Linked DNA regions of Homo sapiens: region 2 is linked to region 1. The links are contacts of gene promoters, found by promoter capture Hi-C in human tissues and cell types (Jung and others, 2019). All regions are on one chromosome and are shown on one strand. Each heading gives the region's core, a stretch centred on a gene start or on the middle of the fragment in contact. The rest is flanking DNA. Distances are from core to core; before and after follow the strand shown.

Evidence for each region. The method cuts DNA at HindIII sites, captures the fragments that hold promoters and counts their contacts. A contact is called where the count stands out against the background at its distance.
Region 2: a fragment that was not itself captured here is called in contact with the fragment with the promoter of PLEKHA5 in region 1 in 2 of the 25 tissues and cell types used here (H1 embryonic stem cells and IMR-90 fibroblasts).

What each region holds. Positions count from the first base shown.
Region 1 is chr12:19,124,603-19,131,101 of GRCh38, reverse strand. PLEKHA5 (pleckstrin homology domain containing A5) reads right to left here and starts at 1,369. Exons shown (of 32, transcript NM_001256470.2): 1 at 1,214-1,369; 2 at 972-1,051. The coding sequence starts at 1,302. The HindIII fragment of the contact is 10,456 bases long and covers 1-5,530 here.
Region 2 is chr12:18,887,200-18,893,721 of GRCh38, reverse strand. No RefSeq gene overlaps it. Among named protein-coding and RNA genes, the nearest start is that of CAPZA3, 150 kb to the right of the region's middle. The HindIII fragment of the contact is 5,934 bases long and covers 2,209-6,522 here.

The sequences.
Region 1 (6,499 bases), core at 120-2,619:
TTACATTTCAAAGACAAACAAGTCACGAATGTAAACAAAGAATGATAAAAGAAACCCAGACCAGTACAGAAACTACGAGGAGCCTTTTCCAGCTCCACTCACACTTAGCATTCAAACAAGCTCCCAAAGCCACCCGAGAGAGCCGCTTCCCCACGGACTCCCTCCAAACAGGGCCCGGGTGCCCCCATACGGGACACCCCCTCGCACGCCCACCGCCTCCTGGCAGTCTGTGCAACCTCCGTGCGGCTGGCGGGGACTTTAGATCCGGATCGCCAGCAACTGAGGCTGCGAACGCCTCCTCCGGCTCCGGCTGCTCCTCCCGTGGCAGGAGGGAACGCGCCAAGCGTTTCCCGAGCCGTTCCCTGTCACAGAGAGGATCGCAGCACCCCCGAACTCCTCTCCTCCTCCTCCTCCTCCTTCATCAGCCACCTACCCACAAGTCCCACCTAGGAGGAGGAAGCTGCACGGCAGGAGGCAGCGCTCCTGGGAGGAGGGGGAGGATGTGGTTACGTTATCCCGGCGGGCGATCGGGGTCCGGGGCTGCAGGGAGGGGAGTGGGTAAGGACTGCCTGAAGATTGCTGGGGGGCAAGACGGCAGCTGGGGGTCACCGGGGAGTGAGTAGCGGCCGCGGAGGAAAAACTCAGGACTCCAGGTTTCAGGGAGGGGAGCGTCGCCACTCTAGGGTCGCGAGGGTCGTCTAGGCTGGGATGGGGGGAGAAGGCGCAGGAAGAGGGCGCCGTCTCCAAGTGCTGATGAAAGGCTGAGGAGAAAGAGGCGCCCCGAGACTGGAGAGAACTCCCGGCGGCGGAGTCCCCGTGGCCCCTCTACCTGCGGCCGCTCCCGCCCGGCCTCCGCCCCGCCTCGCCGCCTCCCGGGGCCCGCGGCGCGGGGCAGGTTGCGGGGAGCCGGGCGGCCCGGGCTCTGCCGCCTCCTCCAGGCGGAGCCCAACTCCGTTTGGGCCCGGCGTTACCTGTGCTCTGCCGCCGGTGTCCGGTGACCACCGCCTCGCCGGTGACGGGGTGCAGCCAGGTGGTGCTCTTGGCCTCCTCGCTGCAGGGGTGAGAGAAGGGGCAGACACGGAGCGTGAGAGGGGACGCGGGGGCGAGCCGAGGGGCTGCAGGAGCACAGACCCGGGCTCTCCCCCGTGTCGCCAGCCGCCCGCCTCCTGCCCTCCCGCCCCCGCGGGCCCCCGTGCCGTCCCCGGCTCTTTACTTGATGAAGAAGACTCGGCCGCCCCTGGTGATCCCGTAAGTCCAGGACCGGGGCAGGGAGATCCACTCCAGGTTCAGATCCGCCGCCATGTCTGATCCCTAGCCGCCGCCGCCGCCTTCTCCTGCTGCCGCCGCGGCTGCCGAGGGAGGAGGGAACGAGCGAGCGAAGGGAGCGCGGAGCGAGCGCGCCTCCCCGGCCCGGCGCGCCCCCGCGCGCGCCCTACCCCCTCGGGCGGTGCCCGCCCCGCCGCCCCGGCAGGGTCCGGCCCCCGTCGCCGCCCCTCCGCATCCCGGCGGCCGCCGGCCGGCCGCCCCGCCGCGCGCTCGGGGGATGGGCAAGCGGCGCCGCGCCCCAGACCCCTCCCTCGGGCCCCTGCGGCGCGCCCGCCCCCTCCGCCGCGCGAAGGTTCCGGGATCGATTAAAAAAAAAAAAAAAAAAAAAAAAAAACGCGTCCTGCCCCCAGGGCTTTGCCCGAAGGCTTCCCATCCCAGGGCGCGATCAAAGGGAGCCTAATAATGCCCAAGCCCCTGATTTCTCTCTTTCAAACAACAAAAACACAGCGTCTGAGCTTTGTTTTATAAGAGCTGTTGGAGAGCCAACAGATTTTTCCAATATATTTATCGTTTTAAAATGGAAAGCTGTTTTTATTAAAGCACACGAAAGGCCTTTCCTGTTTGTTTGTTGTGTGCCAGATATCAAAGGTTGGACGTGATACGTGGCCCCATGAAATATGAGTGGATTTAGACTTGACAAAACAAGTTTTTTCTCTTCCTAGGCCCCTTAGGTCATATCTTATAAAATAAAAACTCGTCTTTTTCTGGTACTTGTTTTTAAAGATTCACTTAACATCAGTGTGGATTTTTACTTGCCCTGTCTCCAATAGATTACAATAATAGCTTATTTTATGGAGTCCTTGTGACGGTGTACATTTTTAAATCTTCACAACAACTATATATATATGTGTGTATATATATATATGTGTGTGTGTGTGTGTATATATACACACACACACACAATCTATAAAAAATCCCCATTTTACAGATAGGAAAAATGAAGTTTAAAAACACAGTAGTTTGCCCAGTCATAGTAATAACTGCCAAAGCCTGGATTCAAACTGGCTGTAGGATTTCAAAAGTATATTTGTATAACCTCCTTGCTGTACAAGCCCACTTTGTTTTACTGCGATTCACTTTATTGCTGTTTGCAGATCTTTCACATCTTACAAATTGAAGGTTTGTGGCAACTCTGCATTAAGCAAGTCCTAGCACCGTTTTTCAACAGCATTTGCTCACTACATGTCTCTGTGGCACATTTTGGTAATTCTTGCAATCTTTCAAACTTTTTCATTATTGTACCTGTTATAGTGATCTGTAATCAGTGATCTTTGATGTTACTGTTGAAATTGTTTTGAGGGCACCATGAACTGAGCCCATGTAAGACAGGGACTTAATAAATGTGTGTGTTCTGACTGCTCCACCAACCAGCTGTTCCTCTGTCTCTCTGCTTCATCTTGGGCCTCCATATTCCCTGAAATGAAACACTAATAATTGTCTAATAATAATGGCCTAATATTGAAATTAGGCCAACCAGTAACCCTACAATGCCCTTTAAGTGACCAAGTGAAAGGAAGAGTTGCATGTCCCTTACTTTAAATGAAAAGCTAGAAACGATTAAGCTCAGATGTATCAACAGCCAAGAGAGGCCAAAAGCTCGGCCTTGTGTCAAATAATTAGACAAGTTGGGAATGCAAAGGAAATGTTCTTGAAGGAAATTGAAAATGCTACTCTGGTGAAAACATGAATTATAAGAAAACAAAACAGCCTCATTGCAGATAGGGAGAAAATTTTAGTGGTCTGGGGAGAAGATCAACCTAGCTACAACATTCCCTTTAGCCAAAGCCTAATCCAGAGCAAGGCTCTAACTCTCTTCAATCTTATGAAGGTTGAGAGAGCTGAGGAAGCTGCAGAAGAAAAGGTTGAAGCTATCAGGGATTTAAGGAAAAACACCATCTCCGTAACATAATAGTGCAAGATGAAGCAGCAAATGATGTAGAAGCTGCAGCAAGTTATCCAGAAAATCTAGTCAAGATCATTGAAGGTGGATACACTAAACATATTTTCAATGTAGACAAAACAGCCTACTATTGAAAGAAGATGCCATCTAGGACTTTCACTGCTAGAGAGGAAAAGTCAATGCCTGGCTTCAAAGCTTCAAAGGGCAGGCTGACTTTTTTGTTAGGAGATAATGCAGCTGGTGATTTTAGGTTGAAGCCAATTCTCATTGACCATTCCAAAAATTCTAAGACCCTTAAAAATTATGCTAAATATACTCTTCCTGTGCTCTATAAATGGAACAACAAAGCCTAGATGACAGCACATCTGTCATGGCTGACTGAACATTTTAAGTCTGCTGTTGAGACCTACTGCTCAAAAAAAAAAAAAAAAAAAGAAAAGAAAAAGTGATTCCTTTCAAAATATTTCTGTTCATTGACAGTGTACCTGTTTACCCAAGAGTTCTCCTGGAGACATACAAGAGATTAGTGTTGTTTTCATGTTGGCTAACCCAACATGCATTCCACAGTTCATGGATCAAGGAGTCATTGTGACTTTCAAGTCTTATTATGTAGAAAGTACATTTCATAAGGCTATAGCTGCCAGAGATAGGGGGTCCTTGGATGGATCTGGAAAAAGTAAATTGAAAAAATTCATAATTCTAGATGCCATCAAGGACATTTGTGACTTAAGGAAGGAAGCCAAAAGATCAACATTATCAAGAGTTTGGAAGAAGTTGATTCCAACCCTCATGGATGAGTTTGAGGGGTTCAAGACTTCAGTGGAGGCAGTAACTAGAAATATGGAAATAGCAAGAGAACTAGAATTAGAGATAGAGCCTGAAGATGGGGCTGAAATGCCACAATCTCATGGTAAAATTTGAAGGGATGAGGAGTTGCTTCTTATGGATGAGCAAAGAAAGTGATTTCTTGAGAGGGAATCTATTCCTGGTGAAGATACTGTAAATATTGTTGAAATGACAACAAATAGTTTAGAATATAATATAAACTTAGTTGATAAAGTAGTGGCAGGGTTTGAAAGGATAGATTCCAATTTTGAAAGAAATTATACTGTGTGTAAAATGCTGTCAAACAGTATCACATGCTACAGAGAAATCCTTCATGGAAGGAAGGGTCAATCGATGCAGCAAACTTCTCTATTGTCTTTAAGAAACTGCAACAACTGCTCTTACCTGCATCAACACTAGCCTGACTGGTCAGCAGCCTTCAACAACATTGAGGCAAGATCCACCAGCGAAAAGATTAAGACTTGCTGGAGACTCAGATGATCCATTAGCATTTTTTAACCATTAAAGTTTTTTTTTTGTTGTTGTTGTTGTTTTTGAGATGGAGTCTCACTTGGTTGCCCAGGCTGGAGTGCAGTGGCACAATTTCAGCTCACTGCAACCTCCATCTCCCAGGCTCAAGCAATTTTCCTGTCTCAGCCTGCCTAGTAGCTGGGACTACAGGTGCGCATCACCATGCCCAGCTAATTTTTGTATTTTTATTAGAGACAGGGTTTCACCATGTTGGCCAGACTGATCTGGAACTCCTGACCTCAGGTGATCCACCTGCCTTGGCCTCTCAAAGTGCTAGGATTACAGGCGTGAGCCACCGCGCCTGGCTAAAGTATTTTTTAAATTAAGGCATGTACGTTTTTTAGCCATAATGCTATTGCACACTTAATGGATTACAGTATAATAAATATAACTAATATATGCACTAGGAACCAAAAAAATGGTGTGACTCACTTTATTGCTATGTTCACTTTATTGTGCTGGTCTAGAAATGAACCAGCAGTGTCTCCTAGGTATGCCTGTAGTTAAAAAATAAGTCTTGTTGGCTGGGCGCGGTGGCTCACGCCTGTAATCCCAGCACTTTGGGAGGCCGAGGCGGGCGGATCACGAGGTCAGGAGATTGAGACCATACTGGCTAACATGGTGAAACCCCGTCTCCACTAAAAATACAAAAAATTCTCCGGGCATGGTGGCGGGCGCCTGTAGCCCCAGCTACTCCGGAAGCTGAAGCAGGAGAATGGCATGAACCCGGGAGGCGGAGCTTGCAGTGAGAGGAGATCGCACCACTGCACTCCAGCCTGGGCGACAGAGCTAGACTCCGTCTCAAAAAAAAAAAAAAAGAAAAAAGAAAAGAGAGTCTTGTCTCCCTTCCTCCTGCTTTTGTTCGTTGAACAAGGGCAGATTTCACTGCGACTGGGATCTTCTCCCTTAATGCCATCTAAGAGTAAACTGCCTCTTCTCATTGTCTCTGGTCTTTTACCACACTTGGAATCGCTTATGCATCTTTGCAGCAAGATGACTCATTCCAACAGGATGCACAGTACAGTAATAATAGTACTACTTAGTATTCTTATAGCACCTAATTTTGTGACCAGTTTTGGGTGTTTCTGGAGCATGATCTCATTCATCTTCTCAGTAACTTAAAATGGTAAATAATGTTTTTCAACAGTTAAGGAAACTAAGGCACAGAAAGGGTAAATGACCTCGGACAAAGCCATATCCAGCAAGTCAGTTGGGGCCTGGATGAGAATGTAGTTTCACTGAACTTTTTCTCCCATACTCTGATTCCCCAAGGCCATTCTGTCTTCAGTGAAAAGGAGTCTGCAATTACTGCTCTAATTTTCCTGTCCATCTGCATACACAAGGGGGAAAAAATAACATCATTTTAATGTTTTCTCTTTTGGTTCCTTTGCATTCTCCTCTTTCATTTCACTACTTATTACTTCTTGACATCTTATCTCCTGCCCAGTCTCTGGAAAAAAAAAAAATGACTCCTTTTTTTTAATCAATGAATAACTAGCAGGAAATGTTCCACATTAGCGTCAGTAGTCACTGGATATAATATAGCAAGAAAATCAAGAGCTACTGACTTTGTATTATGTTGTCATTGCAAATAAAAAATCTAAAGTTAGTCTTTTAATATGATTATAACTTTGCAATTCTAGTACCAGTTAGTCCAGCTATAGCATTTGACTTTTTGACTGTGTACTACTGGGAAGCCTGTAAGTTGACCATATGCAGTACTGGTATTCCTTTTAGCTCTAAATCTTTTGATACTACAAGATTTATTATTGCAAGGCACATTTCAAAAATCAATAGAAATTCACTTCATAAAAACGTGTATCTTAAGAAATCACATTCACAGTGCTTAAATGGCAGTCTAGAATCTTAAGTACAATTCTATAATGTGCACCCAAATTTAGGAAAAACAGTAAATAA
Region 2 (6,522 bases), core at 3,926-6,425, 240 kb after region 1:
AGCATTCTCCATCCCAAATCAACAGACTAGACATTCTTCTTGGTGCCACATGGCACTTATTCTAAACTCGACCACGTAATTGGAAGTACAACACTCCTCAGCAAATGAAAAATAACTGAAATCATAACATCCTCTCAGACCACAGTGCAATTGAATTAGAACTCAGGATTAAGAAACTCACTCAAAACCGCACAATTACATAGAAATTGAACAACCTGCTCCTGAATGACTCCTGGGTAAATAATGAAATTGAGGCAGAGATCAAGAAATTCTTTGAAACCAAGGAGAACAAAGAGACAACGTACCAGAATCTCTGGGACACAGCTAAAACAGTGTTAAGAGGGAAATTTATTGCACTAAATGGCCACAACAGAAAGCTAGAAAGATCTGAAAGTGACACGCTAAACTCACAATTAAAAGCGCTAGAGAAGCAAGAGCAAACTAATCCAAAAGCTAGCAGAGGACAAGAAATAACTAAGATCAGAGCAGAAATGAAGGAGACAGAGACATAAAAACCCTCCAAAAAAATCCATGAATCTAGCAGCTGGTGTTTTGAAGAAATTAACATAATAGATAGACTGCTAGCTGGACTGATGAGAGAGAAGAATCAAATAGACACAATAAAATATGATAAAGGTGATAACACCACTGACCCCACAGAAATACAAACTATCATCAGAGAATAGTGTAAATACATCTATGCAAATAAACTAGAAAATCTAGAAGAGATGAATAAATTCCTGGACACTTGCACCCTCCCAAGACTAAACCAGGAAGAAGGTGAATCCCTGAATAGACCAATAACAAGTTTTGAAATTGAGGCAGTAATTAATAGCCTACCACCACCACCACCACCACCAAAAAAGCCCAGGACCAGATGGATTCACAGCCGAATTCTGCCAGAGGTACAAAGAGGAACTGATAGCATCCCTTCTGACACTATTCCAAACAATTGAAAAGGAGGGAACCCCTCCCTAACTCATTTTATGAAGCCAGCATTATCCTGATAACAAAACCTGGCAGAGACACAACAAAAAAGGAAAACTTCAGGCCAATATCCCCAATGAACATCAATGTGAAAATCCTCAGTAAAATACTGGCAAACCGAATCCAGCAGCACATCAAAAAACTTATCCACCGTGATCAAGTCGACTTTATCCTGGGGATGCAAGGCTGGGTTGAACATATGCAAATCAATAAACATAATCCATCACATAAACAGAACCAATGACAAAAACCACATGATTATTTCAATAGATGCAGAAAAGGCCTTTAATAAAATTCAACATCCCTTCATGTTAAAAACTCTCAATAAACCAGGTATTGATGGAACATATCTCACAATAATAAGAGCTATTTGTGACAAAACCACAACCAATATCATATTGAATGGGCAAAAGCTGGAAGCATTTCCTTTAAAAGGAACAAGACAAGGATGCCCTCCCTCACCACTCCTATTCAACATAGTATTGGAAGTTCTGGCCAGGGCAATCAGGCAAGAAAAAGAGATAAAGAGTATTCATACAAGAAAAGAGGAAGTCAAATTGTCTCTGTTTGCAGACAACAGTATTGTATGTTTAAAGAACCCCATCTCTCAGCCCCAAAACTCCTTAAGCTGATAAGCAACTTCAGCAGTCTCAGGATACAAAATAAATGTGCAGAAATTCACAAGCATTCCTATACACCAACAACAGACGAGTAGAAACCCAAATCAAGAATGAACTTCCACTCACAAATGTCACAGAGAGAATCAAATACTTAGGAATACAGCTAACAAGAGAAGTGAAGGACCTCTTCAAGGAGAACCACAAACCACTGCTCAAGGAAATAAGAGAGGACAAAAACAAATGGAAAAACCATTCCATCCTCATGGATAGGAAGAATCATGAAAATTGCCATACTGCCCAAAGTAATTTATAGATTCAATGCTATTCTTATCAAACTACCATTGACATTCTTCACAGAATTAGAAAAAACTACTTTAAATTTCAGGGAATCAAAGAAGACCCCGTATAGTCAAGACAATCCTAAGCAAAAAGAACAAAGCTGGAGGCATCACACTGCCTGACTTCAAACTATATTACAAGGCTACAATATTCAAAACAGTATGGTACTGGTACCCAAACAGACACATAGACCAATGGGACACCACAGAGACTTCAGAAATAACACCACACTTCTACAACCATCTGATCTTCGACAAACCTGACAAAAACAAGCAATGGAGAAGGGATCTCCTGTTTAATAAATTGTGCTGGGAAAACTGGCTAGCCATAGGCAGAAAACTGAAACTGGACCCCTCCCTTACACCTTATACAAAAATTAAGATGTATTAAAGACTTAATGTATTAAAGCGGTATTAAAGACAAAACCATAAAAACCCTAGAAGAAAACCTAGGCAATACCACAATTCAAGACATAATCATGGGCAAAGACTTCATGATAAAAATGCCAAAAAGCAATTGCAGCAAAAGCCACACTTGACAAATGGTATCTAATTGAACTAAAGAGCTTCTGCACAGCAAAAGAAACTATCATCAGGGTGATCAGGCAACCTACAGAATGGGAGAAAATTTTTGCAATCTACCCAGCCTACAAAGGTCCAGAATTTACAAGGAACTTAAACAGACTTACAAGAAAAAAACAACCCCATCAAAAAGTGTGCAAAGAATATGAACACTTCTCAAAAAAGACATTTATGTGGTCAACAAACATATGAAAAGAAGTTAAACATCACTGATCATTAGAGAAATGCAAATCAAAACCACAATGAGATACCATCTCATACCAGTCAGAATGGTGATTAATAAAAAGTCAGGAAACAATAGATGCTGGCGAGGCTGTGGAGAAATAGGAACGCTTTTACACAGCTAGTGGGAATGTAAATTAGTTCAACCATTGTGGAAAAGACAGTGTGGCGATTCCTCAAGGATCTAGAACCAGAAATACCATTTGACCCAGCAATTCCATTGCTGGGCATATAACCAAAAGAATATAAATCATTCTACTGTAAAGACACATACACACATATGTTTATTACACTATTTACAATAGCAAAGACATGGAACCAACCCAAATGCCCATCAATGATAGACTGGATAAAGAAAATATGGTACATATACACCATGGAAATACTAAGCAGCCAAAAAAAGGAATGAGATCATGTCCTTTGTACGGACTTGGATGAAGCTGGAAGCCATCATTCTCAGCAAACTAACAGGGGAACAGAAAAGCAAACACCGCTCGTTCTCATTAGGTGGGAGTTGAACAATGAGAACACATGGACACAGGGAGGGGAACAACACACACCAGGGCTTGTTGGGGTTTGGGAGGTGAGGGGAGGGAACTTTAGAGGACGAGTCAATAGGTGCAGCAAACCACCATGGCCCATGTATACCTATGTAACAAACCTACACGTTCTGCACATGTATCCCAGAACTTAAAAAAAAAATACAAAAAAAGTAAAAGTGGAAAATAAAAATCACCAATGACCTAATGTCTGAGACAACAACTATTAACATTTTGCTAGTTTTAAAAAACTCAGCATTTGATTATAAACATAAAACATGTTTGATATTTTTGTTCTTAGCTACCCAGAAACAAATATAAGTTGATATTTATAAAATTAAAAAAACTTATAAAAATATAAAAGATACTTATAAAATTTTTTAAAGTTGTGAAAATATCAGTTCATTTTATTACCTTAAAATATACATTTTTGCTCTCCTGAGTTATAGTAAGAAGTCTAGCTTCTAGCTTGATTTGTAGAGGTTTTACTTTTTATTATTTGCCATTATATCTAGAAGCAAAGTTGCCAATTATGATCCTTGAGGGTTATTTATATCATTTGAAATATTTTAAAGCCTTCTGAATCAGTTGTTTAGCTCAGGCTAGAACATATGCTCTAGTTAGAATTAGGGGCATAGTAATCATTCCCTCAAATTTTTAGTGAAGTTTAAGTGTTAGAGAAACATTCCAGATTGACTGATGATGTTATCTTAGAAGACATCATAAACACTGATAAGTACACAGAAAACCTGTCTACTTCGACCACACTCAGAAATAATAGGCAACAACTATAAAACTCTAAACCCATAGAAGGAAAGCATATCAGGAAAATATACTCAGCAAACAACAGAGATTGAAAATAGTACATTATATAAAAATTGTGCTATAGTGTAGCATAATTGCATATACATTGGTAATAGTGTAGACTGTAGATTACAGCAGCATCATGCAAATGAAGGGAAATGCTGTGTACAGCTAGAAATAAAGCCTTGGTTATGAAGAGTACACAGACTGTATAATACATTGGCAATGGGCAACAGAGATTCTTCTCGATTTCATAATTTTATGAAATGATGAATGACTACATGTGTGATATTGAATATTGAACATTTATGTTTGGAGACATATACACTGAAGGTGGTTTAGAAAAAAATAACAAATACTAATACTGCCAGGAAAGTTAGGCATCAAGATGTAAGTACAAATTCACTTCGGTTCATATATACATGTTTACAGCATTTTGCCATTTAAGTGAATGTCATGGAGTTCAACCTCAGAGTATAAGACAAGGTGACTCAAAATCCAGACCATGCTGATACTATAAAATGTGTCTACACAATCGTATTTGTTGAATACCCCTGTCTTTGTTTGTGCTGCTATAACACAGTACCTGAGACTGGGTAATTTACAAAGAACAGAAAATTATTTCTGACAGTCCTGGAGGCTGGAAGCTCTAGAACAAGGCACAGGCATTTGGTGTCTGGTCAGGGTTGCATCCTCCAGCAGGGAAGAATGCTGTATTTTCACATGGAAAAAGCTGGGAGGGTGAGAAAGGAAGAACTCCTTTTGCCAAGTCCTCTTACAAGGGCGTTCAATCTCGCCCACAAGCGATGAGCCCACATAGCCCAGTCGCCTGTCAAAAATCCTGCCTCCCAACATTACCGCATTGGCAACACCTGAAATTTAAAGGGGGATACATTCAAATCACCTCATTCTGCCTGACCCCTCCCCCGCAAATTCATGTTTTCTCAGAAATTCACTCACTCTCTCATTCAACACACATTTATGAATTAGTTTAGTCAACAAACATGAATGAATGAATGAAGACAGTGGACTATAGATTGCAGCAGAGCCATGCAGATGAAGGCAAATGCTGTGTATAGCTAGAAATAAAGCTTTGGTTATGAAGAATACAGATCTTTTCAAAAATTATTCAAAAATTGTACATGGGAATTTTTTAAAGCATCTGGATAAATTAATATAAAACATAATACAGAGGGCAATTGTGTATAGGGAAATGGGAAGGATGTTTTGACAAGCTTTAATTATATCCCAGCCCAAAGACAAAGGTCTTATCTAGAAGCAGGTTACAAGAAGAGCAGAGGCAGAGAGCAGGGGATTATTATTCAACCCTACTGTGATTCACCCTTCATTTGGATTCAGATTGGCTTGGCCTCTACTCTTAGCCCAGCTGTGTCTCCACCCACCGGGGAAAGAGTGGAGTCAAGGCAATTATCCTGCTAATTTATCTAAAAATGGCAAAATTGAAGAAATAGTTTTCTCAGCTCTCTCTGAATTATCCAGGCAGGGGGTCCAGCATGATTACGCTTCTGAGGGAATCTTTTCCTCCCTTTCATTTTGCAACTGTGTACACAGGCTCTTTCTCCCATCTCTGCAGAGGAAGTTTGCCTTCTGTTAAATATTTTGAATCCTGTGTCTTTATAATTTGGCCATGAGGTGACTATATGTATCTGAGAAGTTCCACGTCTAAGACACACACACACACACACACACACACACTCACAAAATGGAGATCCATTCCTATAATAATTCTCTATATTTCCCAAGTGCCAGTTCAAGAGCAAAGGCTTGTAACTGCGTGGACCAAGATTTGCTGGAGGTTTACTTTAAAGGCTTACTCTAAGCTTGTTTTTCTAAGCAGATTCTATGCTCTTTGATGGGAAGGACCATGCCATTTATTTCTAATAGCAGCCTCCGTAATACTTAAAATGGTGCTAGTCACATAGCTGTTTTTCAAGAAAGTACTTTTGAAATTAAAATCTCAGTGTAGTGTTTATTTAATGTGGTGTTAAATCTTCTAAGCAGAGTGTTGCCGAGTTCCTGGCATGTGTGACACTGACGTAGGGATGGAGACATGCTTTTTTTTTTCTTTTTTCTTTTTCTATAGCCTCATACTAGAGGTGAGGTGACATGGTTTATAGGGGCTACCTGGCATATCTTAATCTGTTCATGCTGTGGTGAGGACAGCGGAGGCAGAGCCCAGCTAAGACATGGGAGCTCTGTGGATGGCTATAAGAATTCAGTAATTCTTCAAACTGCCATTCTTTGAATATTCCTTCAATATTTATTTTAAGAAACTACTGAATAAAGTATGAAAGAAGGATAAAGAAAGAGAACCAGTTGTGGTAGTTCTCAGGTTTTCTATAATAATCACCAGAAAGTCGCTTTTGGCCTGAAACTTGAAGTTTCCTGTTAACAAAACACACACACACA